Regions from separate parts of the Homo sapiens genome. Here region 2 is linked to region 1. The links are contacts of gene promoters, found by promoter capture Hi-C in human tissues and cell types (Jung and others, 2019). All regions are on one chromosome and are shown on one strand. Each heading gives the region's core, a stretch centred on a gene start or on the middle of the fragment in contact. The rest is flanking DNA. Distances are from core to core; before and after follow the strand shown. Region 1 holds the start of UBIAD1 (UbiA prenyltransferase domain containing 1). Region 2 overlaps PEX14 (peroxisomal biogenesis factor 14).

Evidence for each region. Contacts are between HindIII fragments. The study calls those that stand out against the background at their distance.
Region 2: a contact is called between a fragment that was not itself captured here and the fragment with the promoter of UBIAD1 in region 1, in 1 of the 25 tissues and cell types used here (psoas muscle).

Annotation. Positions count from the first base shown.
Region 1 is chr1:11,270,824-11,276,037 of GRCh38, forward strand. It overlaps UBIAD1 (UbiA prenyltransferase domain containing 1), which reads left to right and starts at 2,375. Exons shown (of 2, transcript NM_013319.3): 1 at 2,375-3,237. The coding sequence starts at 2,709. RefSeq lists silencers at 1,954-2,223, 2,284-2,333 and enhancers at 2,334-2,503, 2,594-2,643. The HindIII fragment of the contact is 12,769 bases long and covers 1-5,214 here.
Region 2 is chr1:10,488,796-10,494,009 of GRCh38, forward strand. The region is part of intron 1 of PEX14 (peroxisomal biogenesis factor 14); the gene reads left to right. Among named protein-coding and RNA genes, the nearest start is that of PEX14, 16 kb to the left of the region's middle. The HindIII fragment of the contact is 3,285 bases long and covers 979-4,263 here.

The DNA of each region.
Region 1 (5,214 bases), core at 1,125-3,624:
GGCTCACTGCAAGCTCCGCCTCCGGGGTTCATGCCATTCTCTTGCCTCAGCCTCCCAAGTAGCTGGGACTACAGGTGCCTGCCACCACGCCTGGCTAATTTTTTTGTATTTTTAGTAGACATGGTGTTTCACCATGTTAGCCAGAATGGTCTTATCTCCTGACCCCATGATCTGCCCGCCTCGGCCTTCCAAAGTGCTGGGATTACAGGCGTGGGCCACTGCACCTGGCCCACACCTGGCTAATTCTTCGATTTTTACCGTGTGGTCCAGGCTGGTCTTCTCCTGGGCTCAAGCGATCCACCTGCCTTGTCCTCCCAAAGTGTTGGGATTACAGGTGTGAGCCACCACATCTGGTCTTTTTAATTTTTTAGAGCGGAGATCTCACTTTGTTGCCCAGGCTGGTCTCTAACCTGAGCTCAAGAGATCCTCCCGCCGGGTGCGGTGGCTCACACCTGTAATCCCAGTACTTTGGGAGGCTGAGGCAGGCGGATCACGAGGTCAGGAGATAGAGACCATCCTGGCTGACACGGTAAAACCTTGTCTCTACTAAAAATACAAAATAATTAGCCGGGCGTGGTGGCGGGCGCCTGTAGTCACAGCTACTCGGGAGGCTGAGGCAGGAGAATGGTGTGAACCCTGGAGGCGGAGCTTGCAGTGAGCCGAGATTGTGTCACTGCACCCCAGCCTGGGCAACAGAGCAAGACTCCGTCTCAAAAAAACCTCCTGAGTAGCTGGGACTACAGGCACACATTATCACCCCCAGCTCCACCTCTTTAGTTTGCACTGGGTACCACAAATTATGTAGTCAGTCCTGTGTGCATCTATGTTGCATGTGTATTATAATTTCACTGATGTAAATGATGTGTAGCATACAGTTTACAAATACTAAAATATACAGTACAGGACTCTATTGTAAACTCCATATAGCCAGTTCTCACAGTATGCTTTCTTTGATGTTGTGTAGCTTCCCTATGGTCCCAATTGATCAATGAGCATAGTTCAGACATGAATGTTGGTTGATATTTTATGTTAGGAGTAAGAGGAAAGTGAAACAATCAAAAGAGATATGTCAGAACTTCACTAGTTTGTCAAGGCTACAAGCGACTTATTTGTTCAACTGGATAATAATTTGCCAATGCTGAACGAATATTTCCTCAAAGTTTTGGTGCATTCACTTACACACTTTTTTTCTCTCTTTTTTTTCTTTTTTGAGACGGAGTCTCGCTCTACTGCCCAGGCTGGAGTGCAGTGGCGTGATCTTGGCTCACTGCAGCCTCTGCCTCCAGGGTTCAAGCAATTCTCCTGCCTCAGCCTCCCGAGTAGCTGTGATTACAGGAATGCACCACCACCCCCGGCTAATTTTTTTTTTTTTTTTGAGATGGAGTCTCACTCTGTTGCCCAGGCTGGAGCCCATTGGCATGATCTTGGCTCACTGCAACCTCCATCTCCCGGGTTCAAGCAATTCTCCTGCCCCAGCCTCCCGAGTAGCTGGGATTACAGGTGCCTGCCACCACGCACGGCTAATTTTTGTATTTTTAGTAGAGACAGGGTTTCGCTATGTTGGCCAGGCTGATGTCGAACTCCTGACATCAAGTGATCCGCCTGCCTCGGCCTTCCAAAGTGCTGGGATTACAGGCGTGAGCCACCGCACCCTCCAACACTTTTAAGTTTAACCAGTAATATGAACATTTTCTCCGCCACTTTCTTAAGTCTAGACGACTTAGCAGTTATTAAGCATTTGCTGATTTGCGTGGTGTAAATTCTCCCACCATGGGCAGATTTCAAGCTGCTGAAGGATGTCACTGAATGAAAAGCTGATAAGAGGTGAGCAGTAGCACATCATAGAGTATTTCCACGGTGCAGATATGATAGACGTCAGAATGTATGCACACAGCAGGCGCTCAATAAATGCTTGTAGCATGAATAAATTAATGAATCCTACTTCGTGAATGAAAGTGCGCCCGGTAAGTCCTAAAGCAACACGCCTTCGAGTTCTTATGATGCTAAGAGAGGCTGATTGCAGTTAGTCTGGAAGTAGCTGCGGGGCGCAGTGCAGGCAGGAAAAGGGCTGGATGCCGGGTCACCGCCCGGCCCCAGCTCCTGGCCCGTCCCCGCTCCCGGTCCATTCCCGCCCCGGCCCCGCCCCCTCCCGCCCCACCACCGGTCTGGCCCCGCCCCTCAGCCCCGCCCCACCCCTCACCGCCCTTCTCCCCGCCTCTGACCCCGCCCCTCCTCTGACTCGGCCCTGCCCGCCCCGCCTCTGACCAGGCCCCCGCCCCCCACCCCTCACCGCCCTTCTCCCCGCCTCTGGCTCGGCCCCGCCCCCTCCCGCCCTCCAGCCCACCCTCCGGTCCAGCCCGCGCCGCCGGCACCTGTTTCCGGGCGGGCCTCCAGAGGCCGGCGCACAAGATGGCGGCTCTGGCGGCCTAAAGAAGGCGGCCGCGGCTCAGCCGTGGGCTCTAACGCGGGGCTGGGGGCCGGAGACAGACTTCGCCCAGGTGACGGGTAGTAGGGGCGGCGCCGCTTGGCCTCGTGGGGTGTAAGACCCACTTGCTGTTGCCCCCGGACCTTGCCGCCACACCAGCCCTGTCCTGGGGCGGAACCGAAGGAAGGTCGGGCCCTGCTGCCCCGCCCCGTCCTTCCTCCTTCCCGGGCGGTCACTGTGCGTGGCTCACTTTTAGAGTTTACTTCAACCACGTGGAGCTTCCATGGCGGCCTCTCAGGTCCTGGGGGAGAAGATTAACATCCTGTCGGGAGAGACTGTCAAAGCTGGGGACAGGGACCCGCTGGGGAACGACTGTCCCGAGCAAGATAGGCTCCCCCAGCGCTCCTGGAGGCAGAAGTGTGCCTCCTACGTGTTGGCCCTGAGGCCCTGGAGCTTCAGTGCCTCACTCACACCGGTGGCCCTGGGCAGTGCCCTTGCCTACAGATCCCACGGTGTCCTGGATCCCAGGCTCTTGGTGGGTTGTGCCGTGGCTGTCCTGGCTGTGCACGGGGCCGGTAATTTGGTCAACACTTACTATGACTTTTCCAAGGGCATTGACCACAAAAAGAGTGATGACAGGACACTTGTGGACCGAATCTTGGAGCCGCAGGATGTCGTCCGGTTCGGAGTCTTCCTCTACACGTTGGGCTGCGTCTGTGCCGCTTGCCTCTACTACCTGTCCCCTCTGAAACTGGAGCACTTGGCTCTTATCTACTTTGGAGGCCTGTCTGGCTCCTTTCTCTACACAGGAGGTAAGATTTGGCCTGTCCTGTGTGCTGCAGGTCTTAGTCGCGTCCACTGGAAACCGCTGCTTTGTAAAGGAGTTATAGGGATGTCAAAGGTGGCTTTCTAATTTAAGCCGCTTTAATTGAAGTCTATAATTGTGGGTGATGTGAATTTTTTGAAACAGTGATTTGAGAAGATCCTGGTTTGACTTACGGACGTAGGGCATGACTGAAAATTTTATATGGACATTTATTTTTATTTATTTTTTATGTATTCATTTTTGAGACGGAGTCTCGCTCTGTCGCCCAGGCTGGAGTGCAGTGGTGCGATCTCGGCCCACTGCAGCCTCTGCCTCCCGTGTTCAAGCGATTCTCCTGCCTCAGCCTCCCGAGTAGCTGGGACTACAGGTGCACGCCACCACGCCTGGCTGATTTTTGTATTTTTATTAGAGACGGGGTGTCACCATGTTGGCCAGGATGGTCTCGATTTCCTGACCTCGTGATCCACCCGCCTCAGCCTCCCAAAGTTCTAAGATTACAGGCGTGAGCCACCGCGCCCTGTCAGGACATTTTTTAATTTTTTTTATTTTTTTTGAGACAGAGTCTCGCTCTGTTGCCCAGGCAAGGGTGCAGTGGCACCATCTCGGCTTACTGCAACCTCTGTCTCCCGGCTTCAAGCGATTCTTCTGCCTCAGCTCCCCGAGTAGCTGGGACTACAGGCATGTGCCACCACGCCTGGCTAATTTTTGTATTTTTAGTAGAGACAAGGTTTCACCATGTTGGCCAGGCTGGTCTTGAACTCCTGACCTCATGACCTGCCTGTCTTGCCCTCCCAAAGTGCTGGGATTACAGGCGTGAGCCACCATGCCCGGCCTATATGGACATTTTTTCTGTCTCATTTTTTTTTTTAATCACTCATACTTTATAATGCCACAGTTTCAAATATTAGAATTAAATCTGAAGAGTTCAAAATGATATAGATAATTACTTCTAGCTAGTTTGCTAGGTGACTTCTTGCAAGAGGCTGATTAAGGTAGTGATGGGCAGGTGGGTAAGCCCTATTTATTGAGCACCTATTATGTGCCAGGCACTGTTCTGTGTGAACACAGCAGTCACAGATCCCTGCCCTTGTGAAACTTACGTATTATCATGAAAAGAGACAGAAAGTAAAAATAGAAAATTATAGTTAGGGTGACCAATATCCTGGTTTGCTCAGGACTAAGGTGACAGGACTAAGTCGGATGTGCGACTTCTGGAGCTAAAACCAGAAAAGTTCCTGGTAAGTCAGGTTGAATTGATCACCCTGATTATAGTATATGAAAGATGATAAGTGCTATGGGAAAAAAAAGTAGAGCAAAGAATGGGACACAGATTACTATTTTAAGTAGTTTGATCAGGGTAGGCTTCATCAAAAAGGTAACATTTGGCTGAGTGCAGTGGCTCATGTCTGTAATCCCAGCCCTTTGGGAGGCTGAAGCGAGAGGATCGCTTGAGGCCAGGAGTTAAACACCAGCCTGGGCAACATAGACCCCTGTCTGTATAAAATATAAAATAAAAAATATTAGCTGGGCATGGTGGTGCTTGCCTGTGGTCCCAGCTACTTTGGAGGCTGAGGCGGGAGAATTGCTTGAGCCCAGGGGTCAAGGCTGCAGTGAGTCCTGATCACACCACTGCACTCCAGCCTGGGCGACAGAGTGAGACCATGCCTCAGAAAGGTAGTATTTGAGTTGAGTTACATTGAAGGAGGTAAGAGGTGAGGGAGTTGGCCAAGCAGATATCTGAGAGAGGAGCATTTCAGGAAAAGCAACAGCAAGTGCCATAGGCCTTCAGGCAGGAATGTGTCCAAAGAGCTTACAGAGCAGCAAGAAGTCCAGTGTGTGAATGAAGGAGAGAGTAAAGAGAGGTAAAGTAAGAGAAGTACGTTTGGGGAGGGTAAGGAGGCACACACACGGATTATATAGACCTTGTAGGCCACTGGTCTTGGCTCTGGAATGGAGGAGCCAC
Region 2 (5,214 bases), core at 1,371-3,870, 780 kb before region 1:
CTCGGCCTCTATTTTCTTTTTATACCTTACATTTCTCTTCTTACTGTGACATGTTTTCATTTAAATACTTGAGTATAGTTGTAACACCTGTCTTACTGTTCTTGTCTACTAGTTATATCGTCTGGTTTTTCTTATTGTTATTGGTTACATTTTCCTGCTTCTTGACATATGTTGAAATTTTTAAATTAAATTTTATGTTTTTGAGACTGAGTTTTGCTCTTGTTGCCTAGGCTGGAGTGCAATGGCGCGATCTCGGCTCACCGCAACCCCCGCCTCCTGGGTTCAAGTGATTCTCCTACCTCAGCCTCCCAAGTAGCTGGGATTACAGGCATGCACCACCACACCCGGCTAATTTTTGTATTCTTAGTAGAGACGGGGTTTCTCCATGTTGGTCAGGCTAGTCTCGAACTCGTGACCTCAGGTGATCCGCCCGCCTCAGCCTCCCAAAGTGCTGGGATTACAGGCGTGAGCTACCGTGCCTGGCCATGTGTTGAAATTTTTTATTGGATGCTGGATATTGTGAGTTCAGTATTGTTGAGGTTATGGATTTTGTGGTCTTTAAAGAGTGCTTAAAGCTTTTTTCTTCTGTGCAGTTTTTTATGGTTTACTGTTATCATTTTGAGTCCTGTTTTTTAGCTTTGTTAGAGTGGATCTGGATAATCTTTAATCTAGGGATCATTTGACCTCTGGTCTCTCCTGAATGCCCTGTGAGGACACTCCAGTCTGGCTGCTTGGGACTCATGATTCCCCTGAGAGTTCTAAGAAATGTCAGCTCCTAGCTTCTTCTTCACTGTGGAGTTTCACCCTATGCATGCACAAATTTTAGTATTCAGCAGAGACCTGAGGGAACCTCCAGACAGATTTCTGGACCACTTTTTCTGCATAGCTCTTTCTTTCTGAAGTCTGTCCTGCAGCTTTCAGCTGCCTTGGCCTCCCTGAACTCTGATCTCTGTCTCTTCAACTTAAGTGGGTGGCGTGCTCTGCTGGGGATCCCCGTCTCTCTCCAGGGCCTGAAATGTGTCTCCTGGCAGGAAGCCAGAGTGATTTTAGGGCCCAAGTAATTTGTTTCTCTGCTTTCAGGGATCGTAGTCCTGCACTGCCTGCTGTCCAATGTGTACACACAGTGGTTTTATTTATTTGGCTTAGTTTTCTAGTTGTTTACAGTGGGAGGGCAAATCTGTTCCCTATCACTCCATCATGACCCGAAGTGGAAGTGCATTGGTTGACTTTGAGCAGAGGAGTGACATGAAATAACTTATCATCTCCTCTAATCCCAAATGTGAGGTGGTGGTATTATTCCCGTTATTCCCATAGATGAGGAAACTGAGGCTCAGAGAGGTTGAGCAGCGTGCCCCCAAATCACTGAGTTCTTAATGCCAAAGCTTGTGTACTTTCTGTCATGCCACTGCATCTCAAAGGATATTGGTGGGATCGAATCTTATTCTTCCCAGCAGAGAACTACACAGACTGGCTTAGGACCTATCTGGAGTCACAGTCACCGGGCAGATGCAGGATGGGTTCTCCTATCTGAAGTCGCAGTTACTGGGCAGATGCAGGATGGGTTCTCCTAGACCTGGAGCTTTCGCCAGTTGCTCAAATCTGTGAGCTGCTTGTGAGGTTGTTCTTTGTTGGACAGCAGGTCAGGATCTGGGAACGCCTTCCAGTTGGGGAAGGTCAGCGCCTTGGCAGCAGGAGTGAGAGCACCTTTGTCTCTACCAAAAGAAAAGCATTTCTCTCTCTGCCGCCGTAGTCTTTGCCTGACTTGTTTTTTTAAAGCAGTTTTCTGCTTTTGCTTTCTTCTCTTCCTGCTCTCCCCATTCAGGCCTCTAAGGATCCTGGGCATGGATTGCCTTAGGTCCTTTTCTTACATCGTTACAATAGATGCCTGTGGGTGGTTTCTAAGCCTTTTTTTTTTTTTTTTTTTCTGAGACAGTCTTACTCTGTTACCCAGGCTGGAGTGCAGTGATGTGATCACAGCTCACCACAGCCTCAACCTCCTGGGCTCAGTTGATCCTCCCACTTCAACCTCCTGGGTAGTTGGGACTTACAGGCATGTGCCACCATGCGTGGCAAATTTTTGTATTTTTTAGTAGAGACAGGGTTTTACCATGTTGCTCAGGCTGGTCTCGAACTCCTGGGCCCAAGCGATCCTCCCACATCGGCCTCCCAAAGTGCTGGTGTGAACCACCATGCCCGGCCTTGTTTTTTTTTTTTTTTTAATCATGGACTACTCTGTGAAGATTTCCAGGATCAGTTGGAGATGAGGTTTTGCTATGTTGGCCAGGCTGGTCTTGAACTCCTGACCAGGTGATCTGCCTGCCTCGACCTCCCAAAATGCTGGGATTACAGGCGTGAGCTACTGTGCCCGGCCTGCTTCGATTGTTTAAACAGCTAGCATGGTGGAAGATTTTAAAAAAATGTTCACAGGGTAGGCCATGATTAAAAAAATAAAAAAAAGGCCAGGTGTGGTGGCTCACATTTGTATTCCCAGCTTCATACTGGGACTGTGGCTCTGGGAAGCCATGACTTGAGGAATTTGGAGTGTTGCTGTTTCAAATTCCATGGTAGGAATATGCATACACATGCACCCTTTTTTTCTTTTTGAGACAGAGTCTTGCTCTGTTGACCAAGCTGGAATACAATGGCACCATCATAGCTCACTGCAATCTCTGCCTCCTGGGATCAAGCGAGCCTCCTGAGTAGCTGGGACTATAGGATGCACCACCACACCCGGCTAATTTTTAAATTTTTTGTAGAGATGGGGTCTCGCTGTGTTGCCCAGGCTGGTCTCAAACTCCTGGCCTTAAGGGATCCTCCCATTGTACCCTCCCAGAGTGCTGTGCTGGGTTTAAGGTGTAAGCCACACTTGGCCATGCTCCTTTTTTTTTTTTTTTTTTTTTTTGGAGACAGAGTCTCACTCTGTCACCTAGATTGGAGTGCAGTGGCATGATCTCAGCTCACTGTAACCTCCGCCTCCCGGGTTCAAGCGATTATTGTGCCTCTGCCTCCCGAGTAGCTGGGACTACAGGCATGCACCACCACACCCAGCTTATTTTTGCATTTTTTTTGTAGAGACGGGGTTTCGCCATGTTGGCCAGGCTCATCTCTAACTCCCGGCCTCAAGTGATTCGCTCACCTTGGCCTCCTGAAGTGCTGGGATTACAGGCATGAGCCACTGCACCCGGCCGGCCATGCTTCTTATATGCTTTGAATATCCTTGGCAGAATATATAAGGAACCAGCGTCAGTGTGGGTCCCCTAGGGTTGGAATGAGAGGGAAGCTTTCTTTTTTACTTTTAATATTGAATTTTCTAAAACAATTCATTTACATGGCTTATAATTTAAAAGGTACTAAAGGGTTTATGATGAAAGAGACTTATTTGGCACTGTGTACTGTTTGAAGTTTTTCCCTCTGGTAAATACTAGCTATTCAAGGGATGAACTAATTTTAAGAGCAGTTCCTTGGTGGAAACAATTCATAGTGATTAGTTTTATTTTAGGAAGAAAGTTTTGGGTTAAGTCAGAATGGGGCTTCCTAAATACTAAAGCTGTTTGCTTTTGTGTGTTTTGTCTGGTCAAATAACCTACATTATTATTTATGGGGTAGCATTAAGGTTGTTGCTTAATAAAATGTGGTTTAAACAAAACTTGCTTATTTTGATTAAGTAGAAGGGTTCAAATCCCTGTAGTACCAGTTACTATCTGAGTAATCATGGGCAAGTTATTTAACCTCTTTTGCCTCAGTTTCCTCATCAGCAGTAATTTGATATACTTATTGTGAGAATTAAAGGAGGAAAGAGCTAAGTGAATGTTAGCACTTAGTATCTAGCAAATGGAGTAGAGGAAACCCTCAGGAAGATAATGAACGGAAGAATCTAAATAATCCATTCAGCTGAGTTGTTGCCATTGTTCTGTTTTTTTGTTGCCCATTCATTCATTCAGCAAATTTCTATTGAAGGCCTCCTCTGTGCCTGGCACTGTCCTAGCCCCCAGGGATACAGTGATAAGCAAACACAGGCAGTTTCTGCACACGTGGAGTTTATAATCTGGTGAGAGAGACAGGCATCAGTCCGATAGTCACACAGATGTAAAGTTGCACATCTGCTCAGGTCCTTGAAGGAGAGGCAGGTGGTGTTACCTGAATGTGTCACAGGGAGATCTGACCTAGTCATGGATGTCAGAGAAGGAATGCTTCCCTGAGGAAGTGTCTTAGCTGGATCTGAAGGATGAACTAAAGGGAAGGAAGGGCATGTGCAAAGGCGCAGTGACAGAGAAAGCAAAGGCCAGTGCGTCTGTCAGGGGGCAGAAGTGGGCAATGTGGTGCCGCTTGAGACCTGAGGTGTAGTCAGAGTAGACGTGAGGCCTTGTAGGCCACGCTGAGGTTTTTCTGTCTTCTAAGAGCAAGGAGAAGCCCTTAAATTTGTTGTGTTTACTGGGGTGAGTGGGTGGACAAGGGATGGGACGAGCAGATTCTCCTTTGGAAATGATAGTCTGTTTGCATCCCAGAATATGAATTGGAAGAGCGCCAGCACTGATGAGAAAGCTGACGCAGTGGTCCAGGCAGGGGATTTTGGTAGCTTGGACTGAAGTGATGGCAGTAGAGATGGAGAAAAACGGATGGATTGTTTCCATGGACTTTTTAATTTTTTTTGAGACAGGGTCTGGCTCTGTCACCTGGGCTGGAGTGCAGTGGTGTGATCATGGTGTACTGCAGCCTTGAATTTACAGGCTCAAGGGATCCTTCTGCCCCAGCTTCCCAAATAGCTGGGAGTACAAGCGCACACCACCACACCTGGCCCATTTTTATATTTTTTGTAGAGACGAGGATTTGCCATGTTGCCCAGGCTGGTTTCAAACTCCTGGGCTCAAGCAATCCATCCTCCTGGGCCTCCCAAAGTGCTGGCATTTACACCACTCTTCCATGGATATTGAGGAAGGAGTATGGCAGACTTGATGTAATGAGTTAGCTCTGGGAGCGAGGGAGAAAGAGCTGTCTCAAGATGGCCTTTTGGATTCTAGTTTACATCATTTGGTGAAGTTTGTCCCATTCATGCCAAGAGGGAATGCTGGAAGAAGACATATGTGTCAGAGAGGACTGTGAGTCTGCTCCAGGGCAGCTTAACTCCAAGAAGAGGCAGGAAGGCAGTCGGATGTGTATCTCAGAGGGGTGTGGGCTGGAGCTCTAAAGGTTTGAAGTTACCAATGCCTGGAGCTT